Regions from separate parts of the Homo sapiens genome. Here region 1 is linked to region 2. The links are contacts of gene promoters, found by promoter capture Hi-C in human tissues and cell types (Jung and others, 2019). All regions are on one chromosome and are shown on one strand. Each heading gives the region's core, a stretch centred on a gene start or on the middle of the fragment in contact. The rest is flanking DNA. Distances are from core to core; before and after follow the strand shown. Region 1 has its middle 6.7 kb from the start of MIR4273. Region 2 holds the start of ZNF717 (zinc finger protein 717).

Region 1 (5,683 bases), core at 2,104-4,603, 53 kb before region 2:
TTGAGTATTTCTTCAGAGCAGTATGAGAACAGACTGATACAGTCATTCATGCCTTTGTCTCAGTGAATCTCATTTATACATAACATAGACAAACAGGGAGGGGGAACAATCAGATATGCATTTGTGTCAGGTGGGCAGAGGGGTGAGAACAGACTGCTACAGTCATCCATGCCTTTCTCTCAGTGAATCTGCATTTATACATAACATAGACAAACAGGGAGGGTGAACAATCAGATATGCATTTGTGTCAGGTGGGCAGAGGGGTGAGAACAGACTGCTACAGTCATCCATGCCTTTGGCTCAGTGAATCTCATTTATACATAACATAGACAAACAGGGAGGGTGAACAATCAGATATGCATTTGTGTCAGGTAGGCAGAGGGGTGAGAACAGACTGATACAGTCATCCATGCCTTTGGCTCAGTGAATCTGCATTTATACATAGCATAGACAAAGAGGGAGGGGAACAATCAGATATGCATTTGTGTCAGGTGGGCAGAAGGGTGACTCTGAGTTCTGTCCTATGCACTGTAAAGAAGAGCTATCAGACCAGGTGTGGCAGCTCACATCTGTAATCCCAGCACTCTAAGAGGCTGAGGTGGGTGGATCACCTGAGGTCAGGAGTTCGAGACCAGCCTGACCAACATGGAGAATCCCCATCTCTACTAAAAATACAAAATTAGCCAAGTGTGGTGGTGCATGCCTGTAATCCCAACTACTCAGGAGGCTGAGGCAGGAGAATCATTTGAACCCGGGAGGCGGAGGTTGCGGTGAGCCGAGATTGTGCCATTGCACTCCAGCCTGGGTGACAATAGCGAAACTCCATATCAAAAAAAAAAAAAAAAAAAAAAGGATAAGCTATCAATTTACATTGCTATGATGAATTTTAACAGAAACACTTTAAAGATCTTAAAGCACACCAGAAATTTCCTTGTGGGAAAAATATGATGGAGGGGGCTACAAGACAAAAAGCTTTTTATCTTGGAGCCATCTTATTTAGGAACCAAAAGAAGGAGGCAGGTTTGCATGACCGAGTTCCCAGCTTGACTTTTCCCTTTAGTTTAATGAGTTTGGAGTCCCAAGCTTTATTTTCCTTTCACACTTAGAAGACCAAATACAATGTGGATGTAAATAGTTGTGTTGTTTAGGAAATAATGACAAGAAAAAGTCTGAATATGTTCACTACAGATGCAAGCATCTGATTTTATTTCAAATATTTTGCATCCAAGTTTGCTTACATACACAGATATTAAACCTACAGATACAAAAAGCTGAGTGTACTTACAAATTAATAACTGTACACAGGCAGCATAAAATTCTCTTTGTACATGACAAAAACATTCCGTGTCCACCCAGGGTGAACACAGCCACTTCACAAACAGGGTGTAAATAAGGAGGTTCACTAAGTACAGGAAAGTTACAAGACCATATTGGCATTTTAACAGCCATTCCTGAGAAAGAGAATGGGAAAGGGCTTAAGAGTCAGAGGAGAGGAAAAGAGGAAAACAGATGACCTCCTACATCAGGAGATGGAGCAGTGAGAATACAGAATAGGGAAGCAATAGTTAAAAAAAAAAAAAGTAGAAACAGGATTTGATGTCAATTTGCTGTGCAAAGGGTAAAAAGGGGAGTTTTATTTCCAGGCTATCTGCCATGATCACAGCTAGTTTGTTACTGGTGATGTGAAATTTGGAAAAATAAAAGAACAATATGATGGCCAGAAGTGATACAGACTTGGACACATCATGTTTGAAATATCTGAGGTCCCATACGTAGGGATGTCCAATTGACAATTGGGAATACAGTTCCAGAGTTCACAAGAGAGATCAAACCTGGAGATAAAAGATTTTGAAACTATCAGAATTTCAATGGTACCTGAATCCATCAGACCAAATGAACCTAAGAGAATGAAAGGATAACAAGGAACAAGTACAGAATCCACAGAAATACTAATATTTACAAACAGAAATAGACTGTTAAAACCAAGAAGGAACTTTCTGAGTTTATTTCACAAATTAAGAAAAGCTCAATATTAGAAAGTCTACTAATACAATTCATCATATTCAGAGTCCTGAGGAGAAAAATCCTTTAATTGTCCACATAGGCATTAAGAAGATAAGTCTTAGAAACAGATTCCAGGTTCTGATTTCTGCATGTAAGAAGCTTAGAAGTAGCCAGGTGCAGTGGCTCATGCCTGTAATCCCAGCACTTTGGGAGACCGAGGTGGGCAGATCACCTGAAGTCAGAAGTTCAAGACCAACCTGGTCAACATGGCAAAACCCTGTCTCTACTAAAAATACAAAAATTAGGCTGGGCATGGAGGCTCACACCTGTAACCCCAGCACTTCGGGAGCTTGAGGTGGGTGGATCACATGAAGTCAGGAGTTTCAGACCAACCTGGCCCACATGGCAAAACCCCATCTCTACTAAAAATACAAATATTAGCGAAGTGTGGTGGTGTGTGCCAGTAGTACCAGCTACTTGGGAGGCTGAAGCAGAAGAATTGCTTGAACCTGGGAGGTGGAGGTTGCAGTGAGCCAAGATCATGCCACTGCACTACAGCCTGGATGACAGAGTGAGCTCTGCCTCAAAAAATTAAAAAATAAAATAATAATAATACAAAAATTAGCCAGCATGGTGGTGGGTGCCTGTAATCTCAGCTACTCAGGAGGTTGAGGCAGGGAGAATCACTTGAACCTGGGAGCCAGATGTTAAGGTGAGCTGAGATTGCACCACTGCACTCCAGCCTGAGCAACAAAGTGAGAGTCCATCTCAAAAAAAGGAAGAAAAAAAAAAAGAATGGAAGTAATCAGTCCACCTTAACAACACATGAAAAGCTGAAAAGGTCAGGTGTGGTGGCTCATGCCTGTAATCCCAGCACTTTGGGAGGCCAAAGCAGGAGGATCCCTTGAGTCCAGGAGTTTGAGACCAGCCTGTGCAACATAGTGAGACCCCCAACTCTAAAAAAAAAATTTAAATAAAACAAAAGCTGAAGAGACTGAAAAATCAACAATCCTTTTTGGATTTGAATGTGAAGAGAGGACATAGGGCAAACCACTGCCCCCAAGATTGGAGAGATAGAGAAGTGAATATGGGAATTTATGGCTTACAGGAACAGAGACTCACTACTGAAACCACCTTAGGAACCAGTGCTGGAGTAGAAAATCTTGAACTATAACTGGTGAATTGCTGAAGGTTCCATATGGACAACTCAAGGAGGTAAAAACACCAGGGAGATCCAGTTATGAGGGAGCATAATATTGTAAAATTTACCTCCTGGAGCTCCACCAGGCTCCTGTGGCAAATACCTGAGAAAACTTGCTTCTTGCTTCCACCTTTGGGAAGGAAAAAGGAAAACCATCTTAAAATATGCCAGAGCAACCTGTTCTTAACAAGGCTTATCCTCAGGAGAAATTACTGAACCTCAGCCTAACCTGCTCTCATATAACCAGATCCTAAATGACCTGCTGGAAGGGAAATTCCCAACTCCAGCCTACTCCAGTCATCCCTAAAGGGGAAGATAAAAACAGAGAAACACATGTGAAGTTCATAGTCCAAAAGCAGAGACTCACTTAAACAATGAGGCCCAGTCGTAAGACTCCAGAACTCTTCTGCTACAGTCTGAATATCTGTTCCCTGCTGGACCCCCTGCAAAATGTGCCTGTTGAAACCGAGTCTCCAATGCACTAGAATTAAGGGGTGGGACCTTTGAAAGGTAATGGCAAAGCCAACCTGATTGGGATTAGTGCACTTATGAAACAGGCCAAATGAAGCTTCTTTGTCCATTTCAACATGAGAGGACATATAGCTGGCACCATCTACGAGGAATGGGTCTCATCAAACACTGAATCTCCTGGAACCTTGACCTTGGATTTTCTAGCCTCTAAATTGAGCAATAAATTTCTGTTGTTTACAAATTACTTGCTCTAAGTTATGCTGGTGGATGGACTAAGACAGCTTCCCCTCCCCTCCACAGCTTCCCATCATTACTGGATGCACTGTTACAGTAGTTCCTTTTACCTGGTATCTCATATCTAGGAATAAAGAAAAAGCACAAGGCATACTAAAAGGCAAAAAACACAATTTGAAGTGACAGATCATCAGAACCAGACACACCTATGATATTGGAATTATCAGACAGGGATTTTAAAAAAAAATCTCTGAGTAGTATGCTAAGGGCTCTGATGAACAAAGGAGACAGCATTCAAGAACAGATAGGCAATGTAAGCAGAGAGATAGAAGTCCAAGGAAAGAACAAAAGAGAAACAGTAGAGATAAAAAAAATACTGCAAAAGACCTGAAGAATGTCTTTGATTGGCTTATTAGTAGATTGAACACAACAAAGGAAAGAGTCTCTGAGTTCTGGAAACTTTGAAAGAAACTTTAAAAACTGAAAAGAATGGAATGTAATATCCAAGAACTGTGGGACAGCTAGAAAAGGTGTAACATAGAGTGATGAGAATACTAGAAGGAAAAAGAGAGAAATAGAAGAAACATCTGCAACAATCATGTCTGACAACTTCCACTGTTAATGTCAGACACCAAACCAAAGATCCAAGAAGCTCAGAGCACACCAGGCAGGATACATGCCAAAAACCTACACCTAGGCATATTATTCTCCAACTGTATAAAACATCAGCTCCAAAAGAAACCAAAGGTGGAGTGGACAACATCTTACCTATAGAGAAACAAAGATAAGAATCACATTCAGGTTGAGCTCGGTGGCTCATGCCTGTAATCCCAGTACTTTGGGAGGCCAAGGTGGGTGGATCATGAGGTCAGGAGATCGAGACCACTCTGGCTAACACGGTGAAACCCCATCTCCACGAAAAAATACAAAAAATTAGCCAGGCGTAGGGGTGGGAGCTCATAGTCCTAGCTACTCGGGAGGCTGAGGCAGGAGAATGGTATGAACCCGGGAGGCAGAGCTTGCAGTGAGCTGAGATCACACCACTGCACTCCAGCCTGGGTGACAGAGCAAGACTCTATCTCAAAAAAAAAAAAAAAAAAAAAATTACATTCAACATCTCAGAACCATGAAAGTAAAAAGAGAGTGGAATGACATATTAAACATGCTGAGAGGAAAAAAAAAAAACCATCAACTAAGATTTCAGTGCCCTGTGAGATCTTCTTTCAAAAGTAAATGAGAAATAAAACATTCCCTGGACAAACAAAAGTTGAGGAAACTTGTTACCAGCAGATGTGTCATGTGAGAAAATATTAAACATTATCTAGAGGAAAAAAAAAGATACACATCTGAAAACTGAACCTACATTTTATTTATTTTTATTTATTTATTTTGAGACAGAGTCTCTCTCTGTTGCCCAGGCTGGAGTGCAGTGGCACATTCTCGGCTCACTGCAACCTCTGCCTCCCAGGTTCAAGCAATTCTCTGCCTCAGCCTCCCAAGTAGCTGGGATTACAGGAGCCCTCCACCACGCCTGGCTAATTTTTTTGTATTTTTATTAGAGACAGTGTTTCACCATCTTTGCCAGGCTGGTCTTGAATTCCTAACCTCATGATCCACCCATCTCGGCCTCCCAAAGTGCTGGGATTACAGGTGTGAGCCACCACACCTGGCTTGAATCTACATTTTAAAAAGAACATTAGAGAAGGAATAAGTGGTGGTAAAATGGGTTTTTTTTGTTTTTTTGTTTTTTTTGTGAGATGGAGTCTCACTCTG
Region 2 (6,010 bases), core at 1,759-4,258:
CACAACACTACAAGTGTTTACTGCCAGGCTGGTGTGAAATATGTTCCACCACAGCAAGGAGCATACCTTATGATGGAAGCTGTGCTTTAGCGGCAGATGACCATTTCCACTGCACAACACACTGTGCTTTAGCGGCAGATGACCATTTCCACTACACAACACACTATGCTTTAGCAGCAGATGACCATTTCCACTGCACAACATGCCGTGCTTTAGCGGACGATGACCGTTTCCACTGCACAACACACCGTGCTTTAGCGGCAGATGACCATTTCCACTGCACAACACGCCGTGCTTTAGCGGATGACGACCGTTTCCACTGCACAACATGCCGTGCTTTAGCAGAAGATGACCGTTTCCACTGCACAACACTACAAGTATTTACTGCCAGGCTGGTGTGAAATATGTTCCAGCACATAACCTATGTCACCACCGAAGGTGGTGGTTCAGACTTGGTGCACACAAGCTTTCCTGTCCCACAAGAACACAGCATGCTCTCTTCGCGGGTTCCATTCCAATCACGTAACAACCATGACTGACTTTTTTGTCACTGCATCAGAAAGATCAGAGGAAAATTTGCACTCAACTTAGACAACTCTAAGCTCTTACAACCTGTCTATATCTACAGGTCAGCTTTATCTTATTTATGTATATTTCCTTCAACCTGAGTTTTACTTATTTCCACTTTTCTTTTTTAATTCACAGACACCCATAAACTCAGAAAATACAGTGTAAAACAAAGTGAAGAACAAATAAACAACTCACCAGAGATTTATTCTTTTCTTGTAGCTCTTGGAAACAGCCAGAGAACACTGGAAACATAGCTGAGAGAGAAGGCAAATGACGTGAATTAAGGAGAGAACTGGTGTGGTGTGGTCCCAGATTCTTCTGCCCAACACTCTAGACACATTACCTGGAAAAGCCCTCCTCCCTCCTGAAAAAGAAAAACTTCCCCATGGGAGAAGAGTCCTTCAAGCCTCATTAGGGGCAGCAAAGACTCAAGATAAGATACATCTACAAGTACATTAATTGGTAGACATTAGATGCACAATTTATTTTGAATAAAAATATGTATTACCTACTAATTTAGCAACAATATTACCTAAAGATACAATCTAATAATTTAATACAAAGAAACATTATAAGTTCACTAAAATAAATGTTATAGAAATATACTGGGCTGTATTAACTATTTTCCTATTAATATGTGGATTCCACAAATAACTTCATATGAGTGTTCCCATGACAGTACATCTTGCTTTTCTATACCTGAACATCATGGAAAGTGCATCTTGCAACCCAGCAATTTTGGCCTACAATTACTTTTTTTTAAATGTACATAATATGTATTTCCTGCAGTACACCATTCTACTCATGTTTCCCAATAACACCTTTCCCTGTATCCAAGCCCTCATATTATGCTCTGACAATAAATTGGGCTTTTCCATCTGACTTGTCCAGTGAATGGACAATGGAAAATGTGATGCAAATATCCATTGGTTCTTGCCTTTTTGGACACAGTCATATTGTGAGGAGGTCTGGAGCTACCCTGGTGGAGACACAGGGCCTAGCCAAGAGTCACCACAAACCGCCAGATTGTGAAGGAAACTATCTTAAACCAACCAGGCTCAGTCAACCCACCATGTGACCAAGGCCTCTTTTGTGATCCAGGCAACATAAATATATCAACTACCCAGCTGAACCCACCACACCAAAATGCAGATCCACAGAACTTCAAACAAATAAAATGGTGGTTGTTTTTTATAAGCCAGTAAGGTTTAATTAGTTCCTTAAACAGCAAGTATTAACTGTTACACCTAAGTGAACAGAATTCAATATGTTTTTAACAAAATTACGTAGGGGGAGAAAGTCTTAAATTACAAATCAAATACAATCGATAGAACTTCACAATCTAATGCTAAAGCTAAATTTGGTGATGGACTAGGTTTAATATATCTCAAACGCTGGAAACAACGAGGAAAGGTTGAAGGAATGGGACTGTGTTTGGAGAGTATTTTAATCTTCTCAGGTATGACAGGTCACTCCTGTACCCCAGACCACACTTTCAGGCCCCTTCAAATAAGGAATATTTCCTAGGTCCTTGCCTGTTCTTCTCAGCCGAATTCACCTCAACCTTCTGAAAGTTCGTCCAAACCTACCACTGTCACCTAGTCTTTGCAAATCTTGTGCATTCTAGGGAGTAGAATTAATATTTCCCGAGCGAGGAAAACTGGGATCTTCACCTGTGACCTTTTATCCTCCTCTGAAGCACCAGTGGGAGGTTAGACCAGAGGGCTGTTCTTTCAAGTGCGCTTCTTATTCATAGGGAACCCTCCCTTTCAAACCTTATAACACACGGTTAAGACTGAAGTACCCTTAAGGCTGAAGACCATCATCCAGTACCCCATCTCCCTCGCGGCATCAGTGAGTTCTTCCCTGGAAACTAGGTCTCGTATAAACTTCTGTAAACGCAACCCAGGAGGACTAGGCAGGTCACACAGTGAAGGAGGGAACCAGAAACTTCACTTGCTAAAGAGACACCGGGAAACCCAACTAATACAAACGCCCAGTTTAAGACTCGAGGCGCACGCGTTTCGCACTACTCCTCTGGGAATGGGGAACGTCTCCCGAGAACTGTGTGTTCGCACTGGGACAGATGGGCAAACTGAGCGTCATGCGGGTTGGTAACCGGCTCCCTCAGCGGCAGGACAGGAGCGCGGCCTGCAGACTCCGGGCCCAGGGCCACCGGCCTCGCCTACCCGCTCCTGCGCCTCTAGAACCCGCTTCACTGCCGGGACCCCACGCCTGTCCTCCCAGCCCCCGCCAGGGTCCGCGGCCTGCACCTGCACTTCAGGCCCTGCCCGCCCGCGATGCGCCCACGCGTCTGCTCCCACAACTGGGGAACACTGGTCCGGCCCCCCGGGATCCCCCGGGCCCACGGGTTCCTCTTCGCCCTCGCACCGACCCGCAGGGACATAGAACCAAGCCCCAGGCTGGCCCAGCTACAAGACCGCCTCTGGGTGCCGCACTTCCGGAGGAAAATGGCGGAGTGGGCGGGGCGGCGCATGCGCAGAGAGAAAAGCTGGTTCCCAAGGTCCTTGATGGTAACATCATTGGAAGGTGACACTACATTTCCCATGAGGCTCTGCGGTCCCCGGTTAGGAACCCAAGCCGGACATTCTGTTTTGCCCAGCAGTGAGTCCAGTTACCCAGAGACCCGGACTTAATGGATCAGGACTGGTCCCTACCCAGGTGACACAGATGTGGCATTCTGGTTCTTTATTAAATCCTGGTTTCACAGCCTGGCACATTGTGAAAATAATGGAGAAATTTCAATAGAGGCCAATTGGTCTATGCTATTAATGAGTAACTTTTTTTTTTTTTTTTTTTTTGAGACGGAGTCTCACTCTGTCACCCAGGCTGGAGAGCAATGGTGCGATCTCGGCTCACTGCAACCTCCGCTTCCCGGGTTCAAGCGATTCTCCTGCCTCAGCCTCCTGAGTAGCTGGGATTACAGGTGCGCGCCACCACACTCACCTAATTTTTGTATTTTTAGTAGAGACGGGGTTTCACCATGTTGGTCAGGCTGGTCTCGAACTCTTGACCTCGTGATCCGCCCTCCTCGGCCTCCCAAAGTGCTGGGATTACAGGCGTGAGCCACTGCGCCCAGCCCTCAAGTCTATTTTTTATAAATGCATTCGAAAGCATGAAAAAAATCATGTCTCTATTTTACTTTAAAATTTTAAAAACACAACTAATGAATATGGTAATTCTCTTCCAATCCGTTATCTTTTCTCTCACTAAACTAATTTATAAGCCTTCAATTTACACAGTTACAAAAAATGCTCTAGTGCATATACTGGGATAAAATAACAGGGTCATAAGACAGGTGCACTCCATAATCTTTGTGACAACTTACACTTCCAGTGTCTGATAAATATTTGCCCATAAACTCCCACGTTTCATCCATCCACCAATCAATCAAATCTAGCTATCTTTATTTATTTATTGTGAGAAAGACCTGAACTTTGCCTTTCCTTCCCTGATTTCTGCCACAAACTAGGCAAGGATTTCTGCCTAGGGGTTTCTCAGAGCTCCGGCCACCACCGAGGTTCCTAACAGGGAAACGCAAGCTTGAATGCTCAGGGTTGATGTGGGAGTGCGTGTGAAACGGGGTTGGGGTGAAAGGGCAGTGAAGTTTGTAGGTGGGCAGATGAGGGTGTGAAGGGCTTTCAGGTAAGAGGCACGCAGGAGACTGGGAGAGGCAGCGAAAGCACCTCACGCCTCAGATCACCAGAAGACGCTTCCACCAGTGCCGTGACAGTTTGCCAATGCCACGGCAGCACGGGAAGTCCCCACCCCTTGCCATGGAAACAGCTGGAAGTTACTGCCCATTTCTAGCTATTTCTGAATAACCCGCCCCTTAATTAGCATGCCATTAAAAGTGAATTATAAAAATGACTGCAAGCCACCCCCAGGCTGCTACTCTGGGAGCACAACCCACGGAGGGCTCCCTGCCCTGCAGGAGTGGACGCAGGGCTGTAACACCGCCAGTGCCTCCGTAGAGCTGCTTTCTTCCACCACAGGCTTGCTTTTGGATTCCTTCCTGAGCGACGCCAAGAACCTGCCCTTCCTCAGTGTGACTCTTGCCTAAAACCTATCCCTGGTTTTCTCTTTTCCTAAGCATGCCCTGACTTGTTCTTTCATCTCCTCGGATCTTGCAATTGCTCCTCAGTGACTCTATTCTGCAGATCCAGAAAACTCAACCTTAATCTTCCCAGAGCCCTGTTGTCTCCAATATCGGAATCTCTAGCCTTGCTTTCTCAGACGCCTAGATTACAGGCCTCTCTCTTGAACACCTATTGGTATGGTATCTGGGGATCCTTTAAATACACGATGATTGGCAGGGGTTACATAGCGGAAATCAGTGCCTGACAATTTGCCTTCCAGGATATGGACTGTCATTCCCTCTCTTGGTGGGCCTCAGTCTCTTATCCATAAAAGTAGAGATTGTAATACTCATTTGAATTGCAGATACCTCAACCTGAACCCACCTAATATAACGTAAAAGCCAAGACTGCAACCCCTTTCCTCACCACGTGAAGGTGAAGTCCTCAGAGCCAAGGAGAGAAGGCTCAGGGATGATACCTGGGTGTCTCCGACGCTAACCATGTATTGCAGTTTTTAGTGTTCAAGTTTAAGCTTCCCCAGCTTTAATTCTATTGTAACAAGATTTATTTTTGTAATTCCATTTTTGGATTCTTGATTTCTTGGTAAAGAAATACAGTTATTTTTGTATATCAATCTTATATAGTGTTACATTCTTAAATTTGTTCATGAGTCCTAATACTTTTTAGTAAATTTCTTACGATTTTCTAAATGCAAGATCATGTCATCTGTACATAAAGATAACTGTACTTCTTCCTTTCCAATCTAGATGCCGTTTATTTATTTACGTTGCCAAGTTGTCCCAGCTACCACTGTTATCAAGTAAAAGGGTCTCACTGCCCAAAGCACTAGAAGCCGGTACCACGACACTGAGTTTTCGAGAAAAGAAAAAGTTTAAAGTCAAACCAAAACCTATGGGGTACAGGCCGGGCGCAGTGGCTCATGCCTGTAATCCCAGCACTTTGGGAGGCTGAGGCGGGCGGATCGCGAGGTCAGGAGATCGAGACCATCCTGGCTAACAGAGTGAAACCCCGTCTCTACTAAAAATACAAAAAACAAAAATTAACCGTGCGTGATGGCGGGCGCCTTTGGTCCCAGCTACTCAGGAGGCTGAGGCGGGAGAATGGCGTGAACCCGGGAGGCGGAGCTTGCAGTGAGCCGAGATCGCGTCACTGCACTCCAGCCTGGGAAACAGAGCGATACTCCGTCTCAAAAAAAAAAAAAAAAAACCTATGGGATACAGTAAAAACACTACTACAGTACTAAGAGGTAAATTTATAGCAAAAAGCACCTGCATCAAAAAAAGTAGAAAAGCTTCAAATAAACAACCTAATAATGCATC

The links. The method cuts DNA at HindIII sites, captures the fragments that hold promoters and counts their contacts. A contact is called where the count stands out against the background at its distance.
Region 1: a fragment that was not itself captured here is called in contact with the fragment with the promoter of ZNF717 in region 2 in 2 of the 25 tissues and cell types used here (mesendoderm cells and thymus).

What each region holds. Positions count from the first base shown.
Region 1 is chr3:75,728,787-75,734,469 of GRCh38, forward strand. It overlaps a transcript of ZNF717 not described here. Among named protein-coding and RNA genes, the nearest start is that of MIR4273, 6.7 kb to the right of the region's middle. The HindIII fragment of the contact is 4,652 bases long and covers 1,028-5,679 here.
Region 2 is chr3:75,782,541-75,788,550 of GRCh38, forward strand. It overlaps ZNF717 (zinc finger protein 717), which reads right to left and starts at 3,009. Exons shown (of 5, transcript NM_001290208.3): 1 at 2,844-3,009; 2 at 766-824. The coding sequence starts at 822. RefSeq lists an enhancer at 3,122-3,271. The HindIII fragment of the contact is 7,615 bases long and covers 1-4,667 here.